Regions from separate parts of the Homo sapiens genome. Here regions 2 and 3 are each linked to region 1. The links are contacts of gene promoters, found by promoter capture Hi-C in blood cells and fetal thymus (Javierre and others, 2016). All regions are on one chromosome and are shown on one strand. Each heading gives the region's core, a stretch centred on a gene start or on the middle of the fragment in contact. The rest is flanking DNA. Distances are from core to core; before and after follow the strand shown. Region 1 holds the start of OR1J4 (olfactory receptor family 1 subfamily J member 4). Region 2 has its middle 7.0 kb from the start of OR1L4. Region 3 has its middle 14 kb from the start of OR1L6.

Region 1 (3,786 bases), core at 119-2,618:
AGGTAAACGTGTGCCATGGTGGTTTGCTGCACCTATCAACCCCATCACCTAGGTATTAAGCCTGGCATTCGTTAGCTCTTTTTCCTGATGCTCTCACCCCCTCAAGCTCCCTAGACAGGTCCCAGTGTGTATTGTTCTCCTCCCTGTGTTCTCATTGTTCAGCTCTCACTTATAAGTGAGAACATGTGTTGTTTGGTTTTCTGTTCCTGCATTAGTTTGCTGAGGATAATGGCTTCCAGCTCCATCCATGTCCCTGCATAGGACATGGTCTCATTCCTTTTTATGTATGTTCATTGCAGCACTATTCCCAATAGCAAAGACATGGAATCAACTCAAATGTCCATCAATGATAGACTGGATAAAGAAAATGTGGCACATATATGCCATGGCTTTAGAATATTTTAATGGGTAGATAGTGGCTGTGGAGGAAGCTGGCATATTTTTCTCATTCCTGATTTTAATGGAAATGCTTTAAAATGTCTCCACTAGGTATGGTGTTTACTGTATTATTTAGTTTACTGAGTGTCTTAGTCGGTTGGGCTGCTATAGCTGGGTGACTTTAAACAGCAGACATTTATTTGTTACAGTTCTGGAGCCTGGGAAGCCCCAGATCAAGGTACCAGCAGATTTGGTTTCTGGTGCGGGTCCACTTTCTGGTTAGCAGATGGCTGCCTTCCTGCTGAGTCCTCACATGGCAATGCCAGAGACACTCTTGTGTTTCTTCTTATAAGGGCAATAATCCCATTCATGGGGTTCTACCCTCATGACCTAATTACCTCCTGAAGCTCTCACCTTTAAATATTTTGTGTAAGATTTACTTTTTTTATGGCAGTGATATTGTAATCAATAGACAAGTTTTTTTTCTCATCAACTTTATACATAATGAAAACTTTGGCTGTTTATCTTTGATCCAATTTCTTTTGGATATGTGTTATGGAAACTTCATCCCTATATGTTGCTTACTAATAGATTTTGAAGTCAAATTTTAAAAAGTTCAATATGTTACAACATGAAGGCTCATGACTAGCCTGATGATTGTTTTTAAAAGTACATAAACAATGGAAATTGGAAAGACGTTATCTTACGATCCATCTGCTAATACGGTGTGAAGCTTTCTCTTTACTGACTAGACATGGCTGGTCTTCTCTTCTATTTCAAACCCTCTACTCTCTTGGCGAATTATCCCATTTTGAGTGATAAAACCATCTACTTGAAATGATTTTTTGTAGGGACATAGCAATGTAGACAGACATTGGCATATTCATCAGTAGCAAGGATCTTATTCTTATCTGCTGCTGTAAATCAACATTTGTTTGTTTCTGCCTTTTTCAATGTCCCTCTATTTCCAGCAGAGAGAAGACTGTCAGCATGAAGAGGGAGAATCAGAGCAGTGTGTCTGAGTTCCTCCTCCTGGACCTCCCCATCTGGCCAGAGCAGCAGGCTGTGTTCTTCACCCTGTTCTTGGGCATGTACCTGATCACGGTGCTGGGGAACCTGCTCATCATCCTGCTCATCCGGCTGGACTCTCACCTTCACACCCCCATGTTCTTCTTCCTCAGCCACTTGGCTCTCACTGACATCTCCCTTTCATCTGTCACTGTCCCAAAGATGTTATTAAGCATGCAAACTCAGGATCAATCCATTCTTTATGCAGGGTGTGTAACTCAGATGTATTTTTTCATATTTTTCACTGATCTAGACAATTTCCTTCTCACTTCAATGGCATACGATCGGTATGTGGCCATCTGTCACCCCCTCCGCTACACCACTATCATGAAAGAGGGACTGTGTAACTTACTAGTCACTGTGTCCTGGATCCTCTCCTGTACCAATGCCCTGTCTCACACTCTCCTCCTGGCCCAGCTGTCCTTTTGTGCTGACAACACCATCCCCCATTTCTTCTGTGATCTTGTTGCCCTACTCAAGCTCTCATGCTCAGACATCTCCCTCAATGAGCTGGTCATTTTCACAGTGGGACAGGCAGTCATTACTCTACCACTAATATGCATCTTGATCTCTTATGGCCACATTGGGGTCACCATCCTCAAGGCTCCATCTACTAAGGGCATCTTCAAAGCTTTGTCCACCTGTGGCTCTCACCTCTCTGTGGTGTCTCTGTATTATGGCACAATTATTGGACTGTATTTTCTCCCCTCATCCAGTGCCTCCAGTGACAAGGACGTAATTGCCTCTGTGATGTACACGGTGATCACCCCATTGCTGAATCCCTTCATTTATAGCCTAAGGAACAGGGACATAAAGGGAGCCCTGGAGAGACTCTTCAACAGGGCAACAGTCTTATCTCAATGACATTTACTCTTCTTTATAACAGACATATGTACTGACCTATTTCCAGATCATAGATCCTTACTTCTGATCCCAGCAAGGGATAAGTGCTCAGTAACTCTCTGATGACTTGAATTGCATCCTGTTACAGTTATTCTCCCTTTTCCTCTTTAGTGCAAATTGTGAATTCTGAGTTTACATAATTGTTTATTTATCTTGCCTATTAGATTCAGAAATTACATAGTTAACAGAACTTAAATCCTTCATTTTATTTCCTGGAAATTTATTTGTTCTTAGGAATTGTTTAAATATGTTGACTAACAGGATTCCCTTGCCATAGAAAAGTTGAAGGATTGGGTACTTGTAAAGGCATTTCCCTTTCTTTCTTCCCATTCAGTTCTCTTCTCACATTTTTTATTGTTGTTGCTGATGGTGGTGGGTAAGGAGAAGAAACTATATAGTACCCTTTACAGATCCAAAAAGCTATTCACTGTCATAAGTTCAGCTGTTCCACTTCAGAACTTGAGGTTCCTCTTCTAGACTACAATAACTTTCATTCAACAGTTCACTTTCAGACCAATGTTTATGAAGCTTTCTGACTACACATGTGAGCTTCAATCACGCCGCAGACTTACTCCAGGTAATGAATGAGAAGAACAAAAAAGTCTTCACAGTCAGGAGCCTTCTGTTGCCGTCACTAAATTTGATCCTTTTCCCATTCAGTGTCTTCGTTGTCTTTCTTATTGAAAAGCATTTCTACTCAGCTTAATGGCCCCTAGTTTGTATTATATGCCCAAGTCATCTTTTATCTTTTTCTTCTATCTTCTATGGTCTCCGCCATCCAGTGAAGGGCATATAGGTCTCTTTTTTCATTCCTCTACTTAAAGATAAACAGAACTACAAATGCTTCTGAGAAGCAGCAATGTGTAGCTGCAAGAGAAGAATATTTGGAAAGCTAGATCTCATTTGTAATCTCTATATACCAGGGTGGTGGCTGCGTGGCCTCAGACAATTCACCCAATTCCTTTGAACCTCAATTTCTTCTTCTGTATAGGTGAAAAAAGTTCTGCAACACCTAACATATTTTATTTGAAGTAAATGCAGTAATAAATTGGGCTTAACACTACAGCTGACCAAGAATAATGAATGTGAATTTTCTCTACCTTCTCCATCAGAGATGAGTTTTGAAGCAGAACTTGTGCAGACACTCCTGAATTATGGTGACCATGGGCAGCTTGTCATGTTGGTTATATTCCCAATTCAAAAGCAATAACCTGCCCTAGGACACAGCAACATATCTGTTCTGGCTTGAGCTAGAACCAAATAACTAAAGGGCAATGAACAAGTGAGTTCATGTGTGGGTAGGTAAGGAAAGACAGATCAGAAAAAGACCTTACTCTTCACTTGTTTGATATTGACTCAAAGAGTGATCCTTCATCGGGGGCTCATGTAGCTGCCTTTTGGCATCCAGTCCTTTGTAGAACAAGAAAGAGTGCCACC
Region 2 (4,055 bases), core at 152-2,651, 210 kb after region 1:
TATAAGCCTGTCCTTTGTTAAAAGAATTATAAATGTATTGAGTCCTTTTAGTGCAAGTTCATTTCAAAAACATAAATATTAGAGATTTTGCTCAATACTGAACTAAAAAAAAAATCCAGCTCATTGAACATATGTTGCCTGTCTATTAGAGCAAATGATATCAACTAGGAACACTGTGTAGCATGAGTTCTGAGGAGAATGTGAGAGAAGAATAAAAAGTATTTCTGGCATTGAAAAGTTTGATAGAGAATATATTATTGAGGGGGACTTAATAGGAATAGTCACAGAATCCAAGAAAAGAGGAAGCTTCAAGAGGCAGGGGCTATTAATAAGTGACCAAATATGATGAAAGTTTAATAAGCAAAGTAAGCCTGAAGATTGTTCATTGGCTTTAATGATATGGTGGTCATTGATGCCCTTGGTGAATTGGCAATGGAGAAATGGAAAAGGAGCCAGATTGGAATATGTTAAGGAATAAATGGAGGTGAGAATCTGGAGACAGTGATTATAATTTGTGTCAATGTTGTTCTATTGTTTTGTGGCTTGCATTGCTTCTAAAGAGAAATCAGCTATCATTTTTATCTTTGTTTCCCTCTTAGGTAAATTGTTTTTTTGTCCTGGCTGATTTTATTTTTGGTTTTTAACAATTTGACTATAGCTCAGCTGTATATGGAATTATTTATGTTTATCTGGCTTGGGGTTTATTGAGCTTCTTGGATCTTGGAAAGATATTTTTCTTCACATTTGGAAAAATTTAGTCCAATGTTTATTCAAATATCATTTTGCCCCAAACTCTCTCCTCTCTTTGTGGGGCTCTAATTATATGATTGTTAGACCTTGGAGGGCAGCTTAGATTTTTTAATCCCTCTAAGTAGCCTCATGAAAATGGGACAACTAGAACACTAAAACAAGAACAACTTGAAGACACAAAGAATTCCCATAAATCCCCAAATACAGGAAGCTAGAGACAAATAACCAACAGTTACATGATCCATATGTTTTTAGAATCTGCGCAGGAGGAAACAGAGGCAACCAACAGTATCTACCTGAGCTGAGAATAGGAAAAACCCAAGTATTAATTAGCAAGTACTCACCAAAATTTGTTGTGGGCCAATTTAGGAACAGAAGTTAAGGCTTAAAAGGGTTTTGCCCATTCAACAATAGTGAATGTCTAATGATGTCAGAGCAATCTAGGCCTGGGCGGCCAGCATCCCAGAACCTGCAAGTACTCTGCCACAGACAATGATCACGCACCCTGCCATATGACACTGCTGCTGCTGCTGCTGGCACATGCGAACAAGGATGGATCCCACTGCCACCACCCATGAAATGCTTTGGCTGGCACCATCCATAGAGGTGTAGTGACCAGTGGTACAGGAGCATCTCAGCCTTAGTGCACTGGGTTCCTAACCTCAAGGAACCAAGAACAAAGTCAGGGTCCAATACCAGTCCCCCAGATTTAGAGCATGCAGTCCAGGAGTGGGGAGTTGAGCCTTGGTCCCCTAATATCTTCTAGAAACAAAGCCAGTCAACTGAAGCCACCTTATACCACCATCAAACCCTCAGGGTCATTAAATAAGGTAAAAGAAAAAAAAAACCATTCAAAGGAAAGCAGCTTCAAAGATTGAAGGAGCATCAGCCCACAAAGATGAGAAAGAACCAGCACAAGAATTCTGACAACTTGAAAAGCCAGGGTGCCTTCTTCCCTCCAAACAACCATGCTAGCTCTCCATCGAGGGTTCTGAACCAGACTAAGATGGCTGAAATGACAGAAATAGAATTCAGAATATGGATAGAAATGAAGATCATTGAGATGGAGGAGTGTATTGAAACTCAATCCAGGTAAACTAAGAATCACAATAAAATGATACAGGAGCTGACAGACAAAATAGTCAGTATAGAAAAGAATATAACCAACCTGACAGAGCTGAAAAACACACTACAAGAATTTTATAATGCAGTCACAAGTATTAATAGCAGAATAGACCAAGCAGAGGAAAGAATATCAGAACTTGAAGTCTAGCTTTCTAAGACAGGCAAGAATAGAGAAAAGAGAATGAAAATAAATGAACAAAACCTCTGAGAAATATGGGATTATGTAAAGAGACCAAATCTACTGCCTATTGGTTTCCTTGAAAGAGATGGGGAGAATGGAAGCAACTCAGAAAACATTTTTCAGGATATAATCCATGAGAACTTCTCAAACATAGTTAGAGAGGCCAACATTCAAATTCAGGAAATGCAGACAACCTCAGGAAGATGCTTTACAAGAAGATCATCCCGAAGACACGTAATCATCAGATTCTCCAAGGTTGAAATGAAAGAAAAAATGTTAAAGGTAGCAAGAAAAAAAGGTCAGGTCACCAACAAAGGGAAGCCCATCAGACTAACAGAAGAATGCTCAGCAGAAACCCTATAAACCAGAAGAGATTGGGGGCAATATTCAAAATTCTTAAAGAAAAGAAATTCCAACCAAGAATTTAATATCCAGCCAAACTAAGCTTCATAAGCAAAGGAGAAATAAGATCCTTTTCAGAAAAGCAAATGCTGAGGGAATTTATTACCACCCGACCTTCCTTACAAGAGCTTCTGAAGGAAGCACTAAATATGGAAAGACTGTTACCAGACACACTGCAAAAACACACTAAAGTACACAGACCAGTGACACTATAAATCAAACACACAAACAAATCAGCATAACAACCAGCTAACATCATGATGACAGGATCAAATCCACACATATCAATACTAACCTTGAATGTCAATGGGCTAAATGCCCCAATTAAAAAGCACAGAATGGCAAATTCAATAAAGAGCCAAGACCCTATGGTATGCTGTCTTCAAGAGACCCAGCTCACACACAATCACACTCATAGGCTCGAAATAAAGGGATGGAGAAAAATATACCAAGCAAATGGAAAACAGACAAAAGCAGAGGCTACAATCCTAATTATGGATGAATCAGACTTAAACCAACAAAGATTTTAAAAAGACAAAAAGGGCATTATATAATGGTAAAGGGTTCAATTCAACAAGAAGACCTAACTGTCCTAAATATATATGCACCCAACACAGGATCACCCAGATTCATTAAGTAAGTTCTTAGAGACTTTCCAAGAGACTTAGACTCCCACACAATAATAGCAGAAGATTTCAACAACCGACTGACAGTACTAGATAGATCATCAAAGCAGAAAATTAACAAAGATATTCAGGACTTGAACTCAGCACTGGATCAAATGGACCTAATAGACATCTACAGAACTCTCCACCCAAAAATAACAGAATACACATTCTTCTCATCACCACATGGCATATACTCTAAAATTGAGACATAAAACAATCCTCCACGAATGCAAAAGAACTGAAATTATAACAACCACTCTTTCAGGCTACAGCACATTCAAATTAGAAATTGAGACTAAGAAAATTGCTCAAAACCATACAATTATATGGAAATTACATAACCTGTTCCTGAATGATATTCAGGAAAATAGTGAAATTGAGGCAGAAATAAAGAAGTTCTTTGAAACTAATGAGAACAAATATACAACGTACCAGAATCTCTGGGAAGCAGCTAAAGCAGTGTTAAGAGGGAAATTTATAGTATTAAATGCCCACATCAAAAAGCTGGAAAGGTCTCAAGTTAACAACCTAACATCACAACTAAAAGAGCTAGAGAACCAAGAGTAAACCAACCCCAAAACTAGTAGAGGACAAGAAATAACCAAAATCAGAGCTGAACAAAAGGAGATTAAGACATGAAAAACCATTCAAAAGATCAACAAGTCCAAGAGTTGAGTTTTTGAAAAGAATTAATAGATAAAGCACTAGCTGGATTAATAAAGAAGAAAAGAGAGAAGATTCAAATAAACACAATTAGGAAAGACAAATAGGATGTTACCACTGATCCCACAGAAATACAAACAACCATCAGCAAATACTGTAACCTGGTCTATACATATAAACTAGAAGAAATAAATTCCTGAACACATACACTGTCCCAAGACTGAATCAGGAAGCAATTGAATCCTTGAATAGACTGGTAATAAGCT
Region 3 (3,571 bases), core at 43-2,542, 240 kb after region 1:
GTAAAGAAAAGGAAATTCTAGATAACAATTAACCACGAGAGTGCACTTTGGGATGAAAGAGTTCCTACTCTGACCCTCAGGTAAGTCCTAAACTTCTCAGTCAGAGCTGGAGTGTTTTCTCTGTCAAAATATGAAGCTACTTCCCACAAGACATCCTGTCACTCTTCAGAAGGAAAGAACTGCCATGAGCAAGGAGTATCTACAAAGTGTAGTAAGATTTTTGCTGTCCAATCAAGAGAGTCCAGAAGTCAACCTAGAAAGTCACTAATAAGCATGAGTAAGAGGAAATAAATAGATTATGAAGGTAGATATAATCACAGGGAGGGATTTCAACAGGCCTCTGGACATCTTGTCACATTGTCTCAAATGCTGCTACATAGTCCTTGAGAGTAGACAAGGAATCTCCTTGCCAGCTCCTTGTTTCACCATATTGGTATCCAGAAGGCTGGCTGAATACAATAGAGAAATAATACCATAGGTCTCTCATTTGTTGACAAAACACAAAAAGTTTAAAAAAATGTATTGGGTTTTTCCAATGTAAGCTTATTACATATATACAAATATTTGAGATTTAGCTCAATACTGAAATAAGGGGAATTCAGTTCACTGAACATATTTTACCTGTTTATCAGAGTAAGTGATGACAATTAGGAAGAGTGTGTAGCATGAGACCCAAGAAAAAAGTAGGGAAGAGGGCAGAGTATTTCTGGCATTGAAGAATCTAATAGAGAAAACATTATCAAAGAGGAATTAAAAGGAGTAGTCATAGAATTCAAGAGAAGAGTAAATTTGAAGAGGCAGGAGCCATTAACTGGTATCAAAATATGATGACAGTTTAACAAAATAAGGCTGAAGGTTGTCCATTGGCTTTAGTGACATGGTGGTGATTCATAACTTTGGTGAATGTGCAATGGAGAAATGGAAAACGAGCCAGATTGTGATGTGTTAAGGAATGAGTGAAGGTGAGAATGGAGAGAATGATTATAATCTGTGTCAATGTTGTTCCATGGTCTTATGACTTGCATTATTTTCAAAGAGAAATCAGTTGTAAGTCTTATCTTTAGTCCTCCTATAGGTGATACGTCTTTTTGCTCTGACTGGTTTTATTTTTTGGTTTTTAGCAATTTGATTACATATGGATTTCTTTGTGTTTATCCTACTTGGGGTTTATTAAGGCTTTTAAATCTATGGATAGATTTTTTTCTTCACATTTGATAACTTTTAGCCCAATATTTTTTAAATGTCTTTTTGCCCCAGTCCTTCTCTCCTCTCTGCAATTAGTAGATCCTCAAACAATCTATGAATTTTTTGATTGTTAGACTTCTGGTAGTGGCTTAAGTTTGAATCCCGCTGAATAGTCTGATAAAAGAAAGGTAAAACAACTAGAATAGTACAAGAATAACAATTCTTAAGACACAAAACATCCCTATAATGCCCAAAATACAAGCAGGTAGCAACAAAAGACCAAAAGCTATATGACCCACATGGTGTCAGATCTGAGCAAGAAGAAACAGAGGCAACCAACACTATCTGCCTGAGCTGAAAATGGGAAAAAAAATTAATTGGTAACTTCTCACAGGAATTTGTGCTGAGCCAATTTGAGAACAGAAGCTGAGACTGAAAGGGTTTTGTCCATTCTACTGTCATTTCAATGGGGCCTTAGTAAGCCCTGGTGATGCTGGAGCAGTCTAGGCCTTATTACCTCACAAAGCTACTCATCCAATAATCTCTTCCAGTACAAATCCCACACCAAGGATAAAATCAGAAAATAGAGCCAAGGTTTACCAAGATAAAAAAAAAAAATCTAGGAATAAAAGGAAAGTTAGAGACATAAATGAATAAGAGGAACAAAGCCAGATATCTTAGAAAGTACAGGGCCTATCTTTAAACACATTATGAGAACAACAGCAAACAACAGAATAATATATTAAGATCCTCAAGAAAAGAATAGATGAGTCAAGATTTCATATCCAACTAAAATTACTTTCAAATATAAGGGCCACTTTCACTATTCAAGAACTCTTAAGGAACTTACCATAGAACAAGCTTTAGACAACCAAAATGACTGGAGAGACATCAACTTAAGAACTGTTGATAAACAGTAAGCATATATTTAACTGTAGAACTAACATTAAATGATGGTTACAAGGTAAGAGAATACTGTTCATGGATAAATGCTCTGACTATATAGTTACATACAACAATAAACAAAATGTGGGAATAATGAGAGGAGGATATAAAAAATAAAATAAGCTTACTTATTGCCTATTAATTATTAACTTGGAATTAAGAAGTATTAAGTCAGGTATTTTGAGAGAGGCAGAGAAGAGGTAGAGAATTACCAGCTAATTTTAATATTACTAATAATAGGGTACCAATAAATAATAACCAAAAAGGTAGGAGGCTGGTATATATTAAAAAACACAATGACAAAAACGTAACATGTGGACATTACTTGGAGTCTGATTTGAAAAGATCAACTGAAAAGAGTAATTTTTAAGACAAGAAAAATTGAATATGGTTTAGGCATTAGATGATATCAATGAGTTAATGCCACTATTTTCAGGGATAATGATATTTTTATTTTTAAATTCTCATTTCTGAAAGATGCATCCTGAAGTAGGTCAATGAATTTATGCGATATCTGCAATTTGCTTTAAAAGAGTCACCAGCAAATAAATGGAAGGAGGCATATAGATCAAACAAGATTGAAATAATTTTTTAAATTACTATGCTAGGTGATGTGTCATGGGGTTCAATTACACTATACTATTTTCTATACTTTTATTTGAAATGGTTATAATAAAGTGTTTAATAAATCACACATCATATTAGCAATACGTCTCCCATCTTTTCTTTTTTTTTTTTTTTTTTGAGATGGAGTTTCACTCTTGCTGCCCAGGCTGGGAGTGCAATGGTGCAATCTCAGCTCACTGCAACCTCTGCCTCCCAGGTTCAAGCGATTGTCCTGCCTCAGCTCCCTGAGTAGCTAGGATTACAGGCAGTCGCCATCTTGCCCAGCTAATTTTGTATTTTTAGTAGAGACAGGGTTTCTCCATGTTGGTCAGGCTGGTCTCGAACTCCCAACCTCAGGTGATCCACCCGCCTCAGTCTCCCAAAGTGCTAGGATTATAGGCTTGAGCCACTGTGCCCAGCCTCTACTATCATCTTTTCTCAGTGGGTAAAAAACTGATTGTAAACTCATCCTTATTCTATAAGGTCCTGGAAGTCCCCCATGCTTCCAAAAATCTCTAACTAAAATTCTAATATTAGAGAATTCACTGAAGTCATCAGTAACCTTTAAAATATGCAACCTAGGAAGAGGAGTCACTTGCCAAGTTATAAATCATACATGGTAGGAATGAATGTCTGAGACCAAGTTTTATATAGGGAGGTGGGAGAAGAACAAGTGAAGGAGCCAAGGAGGTAAAGAGAAGCAGGGAGAAATGTGGAAGCCTGGAAGAAATAATTTTTGCACAGAGATCAAGAAGAAACTCTCAAAACGAACAAAGGAACACTCCCCCAAGTCTCCATCCAGGTATCAGTGACTCTGCATTCTTCCACAAACTGG

The links. Contacts are between HindIII fragments. The CHiCAGO score rates a contact against its expected background, and 5 or more counts as called.
Region 2: a contact is called between a fragment that was not itself captured here and the fragment with the promoter of OR1J4 in region 1, in 1 of 17 cell types (endothelial precursors). The highest score is 5.7, in endothelial precursors.
Region 3: a contact is called between a fragment that was not itself captured here and the fragment with the promoter of OR1J4 in region 1, in 8 of 17 cell types (endothelial precursors, M2 macrophages, megakaryocytes and 5 more). The highest score is 9.1, in endothelial precursors.

Annotation. Positions count from the first base shown.
Region 1 is chr9:122,517,773-122,521,558 of GRCh38, forward strand. OR1J4 (olfactory receptor family 1 subfamily J member 4) reads left to right here and starts at 1,369. Exons shown (of 1, transcript NM_001004452.1): 1 at 1,369-2,310. The coding sequence starts at 1,369. The coding sequence ends at 2,310. It also overlaps a transcript of OR1J2 not described here. The HindIII fragment of the contact is 966 bases long and covers 1,110-2,075 here.
Region 2 is chr9:122,728,942-122,732,996 of GRCh38, forward strand. No RefSeq gene overlaps it. Among named protein-coding and RNA genes, the nearest start is that of OR1L4, 7.0 kb to the left of the region's middle. The HindIII fragment of the contact is 2,195 bases long and covers 305-2,499 here.
Region 3 is chr9:122,754,018-122,757,588 of GRCh38, forward strand. No RefSeq gene overlaps it. Among named protein-coding and RNA genes, the nearest start is that of OR1L6, 14 kb to the left of the region's middle. The HindIII fragment of the contact is 1,504 bases long and covers 541-2,044 here.